Linked DNA regions of Homo sapiens: all the other regions are linked to region 3. Evidence: promoter capture Hi-C in human tissues and cell types (Jung and others, 2019). All regions are on one chromosome and are shown on one strand. The core of a region is centred on a gene start or on the middle of the fragment in contact, and the rest is flanking DNA. Distances in the headings are between cores, read along the strand shown. Region 1 has its middle 30 kb from the start of CREBBP. Region 2 overlaps CREBBP (CREB binding lysine acetyltransferase). Region 3 holds the start of SRL (sarcalumenin). Region 4 overlaps CREBBP (CREB binding lysine acetyltransferase).

The links. The method cuts DNA at HindIII sites, captures the fragments that hold promoters and counts their contacts. A contact is called where the count stands out against the background at its distance.
Region 1: a fragment that was not itself captured here is called in contact with the fragment with the promoter of SRL in region 3 in 1 of the 25 tissues and cell types used here (lymphoblastoid cells).
Region 2: a contact is called between a fragment that was not itself captured here and the fragment with the promoter of SRL in region 3, in 1 of the 25 tissues and cell types used here (mesendoderm cells).
Region 4: a contact is called between a fragment that was not itself captured here and the fragment with the promoter of SRL in region 3, in 2 of the 25 tissues and cell types used here (H1 embryonic stem cells and IMR-90 fibroblasts).

The regions. Positions count from the first base shown.
Region 1 is chr16:3,909,483-3,912,369 of GRCh38, reverse strand. No RefSeq gene overlaps it. Among named protein-coding and RNA genes, the nearest start is that of CREBBP, 30 kb to the right of the region's middle. The HindIII fragment of the contact is 3,545 bases long and covers 1-2,887 here.
Region 2 is chr16:3,863,628-3,866,385 of GRCh38, reverse strand. The region is part of intron 1 of CREBBP (CREB binding lysine acetyltransferase); the gene reads left to right. Among named protein-coding and RNA genes, the nearest start is that of CREBBP, 16 kb to the left of the region's middle. The HindIII fragment of the contact is 4,434 bases long and covers 1-2,758 here.
Region 3 is chr16:4,240,674-4,243,383 of GRCh38, reverse strand. SRL (sarcalumenin) reads left to right here and starts at 1,304. Exons shown (of 6, transcript NM_001098814.2): 1 at 1,304-1,377. The coding sequence starts at 1,317. The HindIII fragment of the contact is 19,223 bases long and covers 1-2,710 here.
Region 4 is chr16:3,832,856-3,835,931 of GRCh38, reverse strand. All of the region lies in intron 2 of CREBBP (CREB binding lysine acetyltransferase), which reads left to right. Among named protein-coding and RNA genes, the nearest start is that of CREBBP, 46 kb to the left of the region's middle. The HindIII fragment of the contact is 4,169 bases long and covers 1-3,076 here.

The sequences.
Region 1 (2,887 bases), core at 20-2,519, 330 kb after region 3:
CAGCCTCATCACTTCCACGAACAAAGGTCTTCTGGGGAACTTCCATGAGTAGGCACACATGGCCACGTGCCGAAACCCGCCTCTCTCTCAGCAGCCACCTGCATCTTCCTTGAAGATGAATGTCTTTCTCAGTTGCTGCCTTTTGATTTGATTTGGTTTGACTTTTGTTTTTTGAGACGGAATCTTGCTCTGTCACATGTGTGATCTTGGCTCACTGTAACCTCCCCCTCCTGGGTTCAAGTGATTCTCCTGCTTCAGCCTCCCAAGTAGTTGGGATTATAGGCACTCAGCACCACGTCCAGCTAAGTTTTGTATTTTTGGAGAGATGGGGTTTCACCATGTTGGCCAGGCTGGTCTTGAACTCCTGACCTGAGGTGATCTGCCCACCTCCACCTCCCAAAGTGCTGGGATTACAGGCATGAGCCGCCGCACCCAGCCTGATTTGACTTGAGAGACAGAGTCTTGATCTGTTGCCGAGGCTTGAGTGCAGTGATGCAATCACAGCTCACTGCAGCCTCGACCTCCCGAGCTCAAGTGATCCTCCAACTTCAGCCTCCCAAGTAGCTGGGACTACAAGTGTGAGCCATCACATCCAGCTAAATGTTTTTTTTTTTTTTTTTTTTGAGACAGAGTCTTGCTCTGTCACCCAGGCTGGAGTGCAGTGGCACAATCTCATCTCGCTGCAACCTCTGCCTCCCAGGCTCAAGTGATTCTTGTGCCTCAGCCTCCTGGATAGCTGGACCACAGGCACATGCCACCATGCCCACCTAATTTTTGTATTTTTAGTAGAAATGGAGTTTCACCATGTCGGCTGGACTGGTCTCAAACTCCTGGCCTCAAGTGATCTGCCCAACTCCGCCTCCCAAAGGGCTGGGATTACAGGTGTGAGCCACTGAGTCCGGCAGAGCTTAGCATTTGAATTGGAGCAGACTCAATATAGAAGATCACCCTCACCAATGCAGGTGGGCAGGTACAATCCTGAATAGCACAAAAAGGCTGAGGAGGGGTGAATTCTTTCGGCTCCAACTGGGACATCCTTCTTTTCCTGCTCTCTGACATTGGCGCTTCTGGTTCTCAGGCCTTTGGACTCAGACAAGGACTTAACCCATGGGCCCCGCAATTCCCAGTCATTTGAGTTTGGATTGGAACCACACCTCCAGCGTGCAGATGGAAAATCTTGGGACTTCTCTGCCTCCGTAACCATGTGAGCCAGTTCCTCATACTCAACCTCTTTCTGTGTATCTATACACATCCCATTGGCTCTGTTTCTCTGGAGAATACTGACTCATACATGTTGTCTCCCAGTTGATATCTCAGGGCCCTACATTCCTGGGAAGGTACCTGTGACTGGCTTGGCCCACACAGAAGCCCTTAAAACTTCAACCTTGACAGCTTCCCTGGTGGAAAATAGTTACTCTTTATCCTCGGTAGAAAGTTTCAAAAGACCGCCAGATGTGGTAGCTCACAACTGTAATCCCAGTGCTTTGGGAGGTCAAGGCTGGAGGATCACTTGAGCCCAGGAGTTTGAGACCAGCCTGGGCATCACAGTGAGACCCCATCTCTACAGGGTTTTTTTGTTTGTTTGTTTGTTTGTTTGTTTGTTTTTAATTAGCCAGATGTGGTGGTGCATGCCTCTAGTCCCAGCCACTAGGAGGCTGATGTGGGAGGATTGCTTGAGCCTAGAAGGTTGAAGCTTCAGTGAGCCGTGATTGAGCCACTACAATCCAGCCTGAGCAAGAGAGCAAGACTCTGTCTTAAAAAAAGAAAAGTTTCAAAAGACATCCAACCAAGCCATCAGGCCTCCTTTCTCTCCTAAGCTGGCCTGCTCACCTGCTCACCCTAGAGGGGCAGGGCCGAGCTGGAAACTCCTTTGGCTGCAGCACTGGGGGTGCTGGTGTGGGGGTGGGGTCTGCGTCTTCCCTGCACACTGCATGTTGCTCTCAGCACCATCAAGAGAGGACAGTTCACGGCGGTGGCAGATGGGACTATTCATGTTGCCACCCTTTCTGAGGAACTCCTGGAGGCCCAGAGACAAATGCAACCAAGACCCCGCCCTTCCTGGAGCTCACCGGTTGCTCTTAGTGTTGCCATAGAAACAGAAGCCTGGACTGCGGCCGAGGGCTCAGTTGCGGCCTCCCCTAAAAGATACGTCCACCTGGAACCTCCAGGATGCGATCCTATTGGAGTAAGGATCTTTGCAGATGTGATTAAGCTGAGGCTCTCGCGATGAGATCATCCTGGATTACAGTGGGCCCTATGACAAGTCCTTAGAAGAGAAGGACAGATACAGAGACTCCGAGGAGAAGGCCATGTGAAGACGGAGGCAGACTGGAGAGATGCAGCCACAAGCCCAGGAAGGCCTGGAGCTGGGAGAGGCAGGACAGACCCTCCTCTAGAGCCTCTGCAGGCGGCGTGGCCTGCTCACACCTTGATTTTGGACCTCAGCCCTCCAGAACTGTATAAGAATAAATTTCTGTGGATTAAGCCACCCAGTTTGTGGTCATTTGTTTTGGCAGCTGCAAAAAAGAATACAAGGCGGCCAGGCACAGTGGCTCACACCTATAATCCCAGCAATTTGGAAGGCTGGGGTGGGTGGATCACCTGAGGTCAGGAGTTCAAAACCAGCCTGGCCAACATGGTGAAACCCTGTCTCTGCTAAAAATACAAAAACTAGCCAGGTGTAGTGGCACGCTCCTCAGCAGGCTGAGGCAGGAGAATCACCTGAACCCGGGAGGCAGAGGTTACTGTGAACCGAGATGGTACCCCTGCACTCTAGCCTGGGCAACAGAGCAAGACTATGTCTCAGAAAAAAAAAAAAAAGAAAGAAAAGAAAAGAAAAGAAAAAAAGAATACAAGGGCGGCTACTGCCAAAGACAGGGCTCCCTAG
Region 2 (2,758 bases), core at 31-2,530, 380 kb after region 3:
GTGTGGCGTCTGATCATCACTTGCTTTGTCACAAGCTCCATTTTTAACATCATCTTTATATTAGAGGTTTCTTCATTGATTTGCTAGAAGCCACAAGACATGACAGCCAACTAATTTTTGAGTATTTTGAAATAATGTCAGATTTCCCTGTGTGAGCGTTGGGTACAAAATGTTACATGTCGATTGTCACATCCCTTTAGAAAAAAATACTTTCGAAAAGTTCTTCTTTAAAGTGCCCTTTTCTTTTCTAGCCTTTTAAGCTTATTTGTACACTAAATATATTTTGAACTAATAGTGAACCCATTTCACATTTTATCCTCAAATCATAAGGACCCTAACTGGAAACTGGAGCACTGGGAACCATTCCAGGTGTTACCACCTGGTGCTGAAGTTAATCACCTGGGCCAGTATATCCCCAGTGGGGGTGCCTTAAAAAAAAATCAGTTTCTTGGCCGGGCGCGGTGGGCTCACGCCTGTAATCCCTGCACTTTGGAAGGCTGAGTTGATGGATCATGAGGTCAGGATATCGAGACCGTCCTGGCCAACATGGTGAAACCCCGTCTCTACTAAAATACAAAAATTAGCCGGGTGTGATGGCGTGCACCTGTAGTCCCAGCCACTCAGGAGGCTGAGGCAGGAGAATTGCTTGAACCCAGAAGGTGGAGGTTGCAGTGAGCTGAGGTCGCGCCACTACATTCCAGCCTGGGCGACAGATCAAGACTCCATCTCAAAAAAAAAAAAAATTAGTTCCTTTAATTACTTAAACTAGTAGTTCATTCACATGGCTCAGAAAACTCAGAGGACAAAACCTGTAGAGAGAGCCTCCCTCCACCTAGCTCCTCCCAGGTAACCACTGGAAGTAGTGCTGTCTTCCAGGGTTTATCTGTATTCAGGCAGACGCTGTTGACTCTTAGTTCTCTCTTCCCCCTTCCTGCCTTTTTCTTCTTAACTGAGGTAGCATAGTGTACACACAGCTGCATACGTTTATTGTCTTCTTACAGTTGTCTACCATTCCATTATGTGACCTGTGCCATAATTGCTTTAATCCTCTCCCCACTGGTGGACATTTAGGTTATTTCCAGTCTTGTCTTCTCACAAACAGTGCTTTAATGAATAGCCTTGTAAAGTTATGCGGACAGGCAAATCTATGGAACAGATTCATAGAAATAGAATTAGTGGTTAAAAGGCATATGCATTTATAGTTTTGATCATAGCAAATTTTCCTTCAAGAGCCTGTGTGTTGGTAGAGTCTTAAAATGTGAAAGGCAGCACATATATTCTCCAGGTATACATTGCTAGATGTGTTGCAGATATTCTTTTTTTTTTTGAGACAGAGTCTTGCTTTGTCGCCCAGGCTGGAGTGCATTGGCACGATCTTGGCTCACTGCAGCCTCCACCTCTCAGATTCAAGTGATTCTGGTGCCTCAGCCTCCTGGGATTACAGGCATGCACTACCATGCCCCGCTAATTTTTGTATTTTTAGTAAAGGAGGGGTTTTGCCATGTTGGCCAGGCTGGCCTCGAACGCCTGACCTCAGGTGACCTGCCTGCCTTGGCCTCCCACAGTGCTGGGATTACAGGTGTGAACCACCATGCCCAGCCACGGATATTCTTTATCAGCATAGTCTATGATGAGTAACACTAAGGTTGTTCTTCAGCTTGTGATTCTCCATCATGTTGTGCTTCTCAGTTGTTTCTGAATTCTCTCATTTTATGGTGTACCTTTTTATTATTATTTTGAGTCAGGGTCTCACTCTGTCACCCAGGATGGAGTGCAGTGACGTGATCTTGACTCACTGTAGCCTCCATCTCCTGGGCTCAAGCAGTCCTCCCACCTCAGCCTCCTGAGCAGCTAGGACTATGGGCATGTGCCACCATGCCTGGCTAATTTTTGTACTTTTTTTTGTAGAGACCGGGTTTCGCTATGTTGCCCAGGCTGGTCTTGAACTACTGGACCCAAGCAGTCCCCCTGCCTCGGCTTCCCAAAGTGCCAGGATTATAGGTGTGAGCCAACATACCTGGTACTGGCATACTTTTTGGACTTAAGGCATTCATTTTCTGTTTGTGGCTCTCAAATAGCCCACACGCCTCCACGCGTTGTACATGGACTGGCACTTCCAAGTCTGCTTTCACGTCTGGAATATGCTCTTTCCCCCTTTCTTGACTTCTTGTTGCCGCCTGCCAGCTACATCTCACAGCATTTGGGGCAAAGGACCTGGTCTCTGGATGTCTGTTTGCTTGTTCTTACAATATGGCTGGGGAATCTGAGGTGGCTGGGAATCTGGGGTCTGGGGCTGCTTCTGCAAAGGCTAGCTCCTAGCTCAGCCCCCACATTCTTCTTCCTCCAGGACTGTTCTTGGCTGGAGAATCCTCTCCCTGTAAGCAGGGTGGATAGGCAGCTGACTGTAGCACCTCTCCGGGGTCTGGTGCCCCTCTCAGCTGTGGTGGTGGTAAACAACCCGTTTTTGCTCCCCTGTCCCAGATGATTGGGCTAACGTGCAGGGGCTGCTGGGTCATTACTGTGTTCTGGTGGCAGCTGGCTGCTATGACAGGCACCTTCCATTCCACCCTTGTCCCCACCCTTCAGGGCTGAGGGAAGCAGCACGCAAACCATGTTGAGGAAACTAACGTTGTCTTGGCTGTCTGGGAATGGCACTTCCCTGTGACTGCTAAGTGCACCAAATAAAAATAGACTTGGCTGCATTTCCAGGACAGTTTAGGGTCCCAGGTGACAAAGAACTTTGAATAAGGACTGTCTA
Region 3 (2,710 bases), core at 55-2,554:
CAGATGCCTAATTCTTTTTTTTTTTTTTTTTTTTTTTGAGACAGAGTCTCGCTCTGTTGCCCAGGCTAGAGTCAGTGGTGCAATCTTGGCTCATGGCAACCTTCGCCTCCTGGGATCAAGTGATTCTCCTGCCTCAGCCTCCTGAGGAGCTGGGATTATAGGCACCCGCCACCACACCCAGTAATTTTTGTATTTTTAGTGGAGATGGGGTTTCACCATGTTGGCCAGGCTGGTCTCAATCTCCTGACCTCAGGTGATCCACCCGCCTCGGCCTCCCAAAGTGCTGGGATTACAGGTGTGAGCCACTGTGCCTGGCCCTGATTTAGTTCCTTTCCTCCAAGGCTGGCTTCTACCTCTTCCCCACACAGTGACACTGTACCCCGACCAGACAAGCAAGTGTCTGCTTTCCCTTGGCTTCTTACAACTGGCTCTCTGGGCCATCTACAAAAAATTTTAAAAAATTAGTACAGCATGGTGGCACTACTGTCCTAGCTACTTGGGAGGCTGAGTTGGGAGGATTGATTGAGCCTGGGAGGTCGAGTGCAGTGAGTGATGATTGTGCCACTGCAGTCCAGCCTGGGTGACAGAGCGAGATCCTCTATCAAAAACAAATAAACAAAAAAGCACTTTGCAGAGGTGACTGAATGTTCTGGAACCCCTGGGCCATTGGAAATGGATATCTGTTGCTCCATCCTCCAGTTTACACCGTAGCCTCAGCTTGTGTCTCAGTGTGCCCCTCTCCCTCTGGTCTGTGCTCTCTCTCTTCCAGAGGCTGGGAAGGTTGTTCCAGGGCTGCAGCCTTGGACCTCAGAGGTCACATGTTGCGGGTTTGCCGTAGCTGACCACTCTCTAGCATGTGGATCAGTGGCTGTTAAATAGGATTTCTTTTGCGTGGCCTTACAACTTCCTCCTTCCAGTGCAGGCGTGTCAAGGTCCTTAACCTGCCGAGACTTCAGGTCAAGTTATTGCAAGTTCTGGGAAGACTCAGCTTCCCAGCTCCACCGCCTGAGCCCAAGGGATGCTCCATTTTATGCCTGTCACCCACGCCCTGTGACCCATGTCATGTGATCCCAGGGCTGCAGGGGTTCGGGGGAAGAGAATCCAGCCACGGCCCTGCCTTCTGGGGCCTGGCAGCTGGGACAGCAGTGGCGCAGCCTGAGCCTCTGCACAGCCTTCTGGGGTCCGGGCTTCTTCCCCATCACACCCTCCTAGTTGCCCTGGTGACTGTGTGACCCCTCTCCCCCCTCCACCGCCTGCTGCCACGGCCGGCCGTATAAATAGAGGCGAGGAGCAGCTGGGCTCTCTTGGCAGTCACCATGAGGGCGCTGGTCCTGCTCGGCTGCCTCCTGGCCTCGCTCCTGTTCTCAGGACAAGCAGGTAGGGCCCCTCCCAGCATGACCCAGCCCAGACTGGTCCCCCACGCTTCCTCCAAGGTTTTCTGTCTACCATGGGTTGGGTAGGGGGTCGGGGCTGATGGCAAACCCTGGCTCTTGGCTGGTGTCTTCTTACCCTTCTCTTTTCCCCGGGCCTGGGGCCTCAGAGAAAGAGCTGGGTGCTGGAGAATAGCAGCACAGTTGCGGGGCCCTCAGGAAGGCCAGAGGAAGTGGGAACGGCAAACAGAGCTGAGCTGTGAGCCAGGGTCAGAGAGGAGTCTGGCCAGTAGATGTGGGAAAGAGGGCCCTCAAAGTCGAGACGGGGGAGCCTCTGAGACGGACAAAATAGCACAGTCTGGGAGCTGGAGGTCGTTGAGGTGACCCTCCCACCTGGTGGGATATAAGGCGGAGGCCCCACTCGGGTAAGAGAACTGGGTTTGCGTGGACAGAAGGGGATACAGTGGGCAAAGGTGGGGACCGTTTTGGGAGCAGTGAGATAGAATTGGAATTGGTTTGGGATAAGATCGGAAATAGAGTTGGCGGTTGGGCTGGAAACAGCATTGGATGCAATTCAGAAGAGGAACGGGGCCCGTTCTGGAGTAGAGCCTCTGCTCGGGGTGGGGGCTTCCATCAGAAAAGGGGCTTGGCTCTGTGTGCTGAGGCTTCCCTTTGACATCTCAGCACTTTGGGTAGCAGAGGTGGTGGCTTGGGTTGCAGCATGGGGGTTATCTATAGGCTATGGAGGAGATGCCAGATTGTTTTGCCACCTCTCTTGTTCCTAAGGTTCCTGAGGCCAGGTTCCCCGAGGGAATGCTTTTAGGGAGGTGCTCCGGGGATCCCCCTAGGATCCGGACTGCCCACCGAGTCTTTTCATGACTCGGCAGTCTTCCCCCAAGCTGGGCTCTGAGCCTAGGTCCGTACCTGGGACTGGAGAGGCCCAGAGTCCAGCCTCTCAGGTCTTTGAGGTTGAATAGGGGGTTGCAGGGGCACAGTCCCTGCAGGGAGAGCAGGCAGTGGGTGGGAACAAAAGCTATTTCTCGGGGACTCAAGATGTAAGGTGGGGGGCTCCAGCCACTGCATGTGCTGCTGGGCCCTGCCCTTGTCTGTCCTTGAGTTAATTTGGGCTCTGCAGGGCTGCAGCGGCTTGAGTGCTGAGTATTCCAGGCGGCTGTCAGGCGGCTAAGTATGGAAACAGCCGCGTAATTGGATCCGGAGCCCCAAGCCGCTGCCACCCTCTCCCTTCGTGGCCGCTCCTGTGCTGCCCCCCAGCCCCAGCTGCTGGGCTGCTACACACTGGGCCCCAGGAATTTTTGGCCTTTTAGGGACATCCTTTATCT
Region 4 (3,076 bases), core at 337-2,836, 410 kb after region 3:
TTAATGGACATTGGGGTTGTTTCCAGTTTGAAGCTATTAAGAATAAATCTTCTGCCGGGCGCGGTGGCTCACACCTGTAATCCCAGCACTTTGGGAGGCCAAGGCGGGTGGATCACAAGGTCAGGAGATCGAGACCATCCTGGCTAACGTGGTGAAACCCCCATCTCTACTAAAAATACAAAAAATCAGCCAGGTGTGGTGCCAGGCGCCTGTAGTCCCAGCTACTCGGGAGGCTGAGGCAGGAGAATGGCGTGAACCTGGGAGGCGGAGCTTGCAGTGACCCGAGATCCCACTACTGCACTCCAGCCTAGGCGACAGAGCAAGACTCCGTCTCAAAAAAAAAAAAAAAAAAAAAGAAGAAATCTTCTGTGAGCATTTTTGTACAGCTTTTTTTGTGGGCATAGAAGTTTTCATTTCTCTTAGATAAATAACTAGCAACGAAATTCACTGTACAAGGAGGTGTCTGTTTCTGGACTCTGTAGTCTAAGGGCAAACTATAGCCCATGAACCACATCCAGCCCCATGACCTGTTTTTATATGGCTTGCCACGTAAGGATGGGTTTTATATTTTTTAAGGATTGTTTAAAAAGAAAACAATCTGGGATGGAAACCGCAGGTCATCTGCAAAGACTAAATTATTTATTAACTGGCCCTTCATAGAAAAAAAAAATCCCTGTACCTTTGTTCTAGTCTGTTCTATTGATCTATTTTTCTATTCATTTAGTTTGTTTTTTAAGAAAAGCTTTTTTGTTTGTTTGTTTTGTTTTGTTTTGGAGAAGGAGTCTCGCTCTTTTGCCCAGGCCGGAGTGCAGTGGCGTGGTCTCGGCTCACTGCAACCTCCACCTCCCGGGTTCATGCCATTCTCCTGCCTCAGCCTCCCTTAGTAGCTGGAACTACAGGCGCCTGCCACCATGCCCGGCCAATTTTTTGTATTTTTACTAGAGACGGGGTTTCACCGTGTTAGCCAGGATGGTCTCGATCTCGTGACCTCGTGATCCGCCCGCCTCGGCCTCCCAAAGTGCTGGGATTACAGGCGTGAGCCACTGCGCCTGGCCCAAGAAAAGCTTTTAAAGATTTTGGGTTTTTTTAGAGTAGTTTGAGCTTCACAATGAAATGAAGGTACAGAGATTTTCCATCTATTCCCTGTTCTCCTAGTTCATAGTCTCCTCCATTTTCAACATCCTCCCCAACTCCGCTGTCTAGAATGGTACAGTTTGTCACAATCAATAAACCTATATTGATACATCATAATCCGAAGTCTGTAGTTTACACTAGGGTTCACTCTTGGTGTTGTACATTCTGTGGACTTGGACAAATGTATAATGATGTGCATCATTGTAGTGTCATGCAGAGTATTTTCACTGCCCTAAAAGCCGTCTGTGTTTCACCTCTTCATCCCTCTCTCCTTCCCAAAACCCTGGCAACCACTGATTGTCTCCATAGTTTTGCCTTTTTGTAAAGTTACAGTCACACAGTGTGTAGCCTTTTCTCATTGGCCTCATTCATTTAATAATATGTATTTAAGGTTCCTCTGGGTCTTTTCATGGCAATTATCCCTTTACCTACTGAAAGACTTCATGGTTGCTTCCAAGTTTTGGCAATTATGAATAAAGCTGCCATATACATCCATGTGCAGGTTTAAGTTTTTACCTGTTTTGGGTAAATACCAGTGAGCACAATTGCTGGATCATATGGTAAGAGTATGCTTAGTTTTGTGAGAAACTGCAAAAATGTCTTCCAAAGTGTCTATATCATTTTACATTCCCACCAGTGATGAATGAGAGTTCCTGTTGCACTACATCCTCGCCAGCATTTCGTGTTGACAGTGTTCTGGATTTGGCTGTTCTAATAGGCAAATAGTGGTATCCCATTGTTGTCATTTGCATTTCTGTGATAAGATGTGGGTCATCTTTTCATACGCTTATTTGCCATCTGTGTGTCTTCTTTGATGAGGTGTATGTTAAGGTCTTTGGCCCATTTTTTAAACAGGTTGTTATTGTTGAGTTTTGAGAGTTCTTTATATATTTTTGTAAATAGATCTTTATCAGATGTGTTTCTTGCACATATTTTCTCCCAGTCTGTGGATTGTCTTCTCATTCTCTTGACATTATCTTTGAAGGGGCAGTTTTAATTTTAATGAAGTCAATTTTATCAATCACAAAAGTTTCATAGATGAAACTTTCATAGTTGTACTTTAGCTTTACAGTAAGTATTAAAGTCAGGTTGCTTAGTTTCTCGTTTTCATTTCTGTTTAATTCCTAGGTTTTACACCATTATTTGTTGCTAGTATGGAGAAGTATAATAAATGTTTCTGTATTAATGTTGTATCTTGTAACCCTGCTAAACTCACTTATTAATTCTATAAGATGTCTTAGAATTTTCTGGGACATGTTGTCTGAGAATAAAAATAGCTTGCTTCTTCCTTTTTCATCTGTATGCATTTTATTCATTTTTCTGGCTTTAATGTTCTGCCTAGGACCTCTAGTACAATGTTTTGTTTGTTTGTTTTGGGTTTCTTTTGAGATGGACTCTCACTCTGTAGCCCAAGCTGAAGTGCAGTGGTGCTATCTCGCCTCACTGCAACCTCCACCTCTGGGGCTCAAGCGATTCTCGTGCCTCAGCCTCCTGAGTAACTGGGACTACAGGCTTGCGCCACCACACCCAGCTAATTTTGTATTTTTAGTAGATACGGGGTTTCACCATGTTGGTCAGGCTGGTCTCGAACTCCTCACCTCAGGTGGTCCGCCCATCTCAGCCTCCCAAAGTGCTGGGATTATAGGTGTGAGCCACCGTGCCTGGCCAGCACAATGTTTAATAAAACCAATGACAGTGTTCTTCCCTTGTCTTATTCATGATCTGTGGGAAAAAAGCATTCAGCCTTTCGTTAAGTATAATGTTAGTTGTAGGCTTTAGGTATCATTCATTAGGATGAGGAATTCTGTTTCTAGTTTGCTGAGTCTTTTGATCATAAGCGATTACTGAATTTTGCCACATCTTTTTTCATTTATTGAGATGAATCATAGGGTGTTTTTTTTTTCTTTGAATGTGAATTACGTCTTTCTGAGTGTTGAACCAG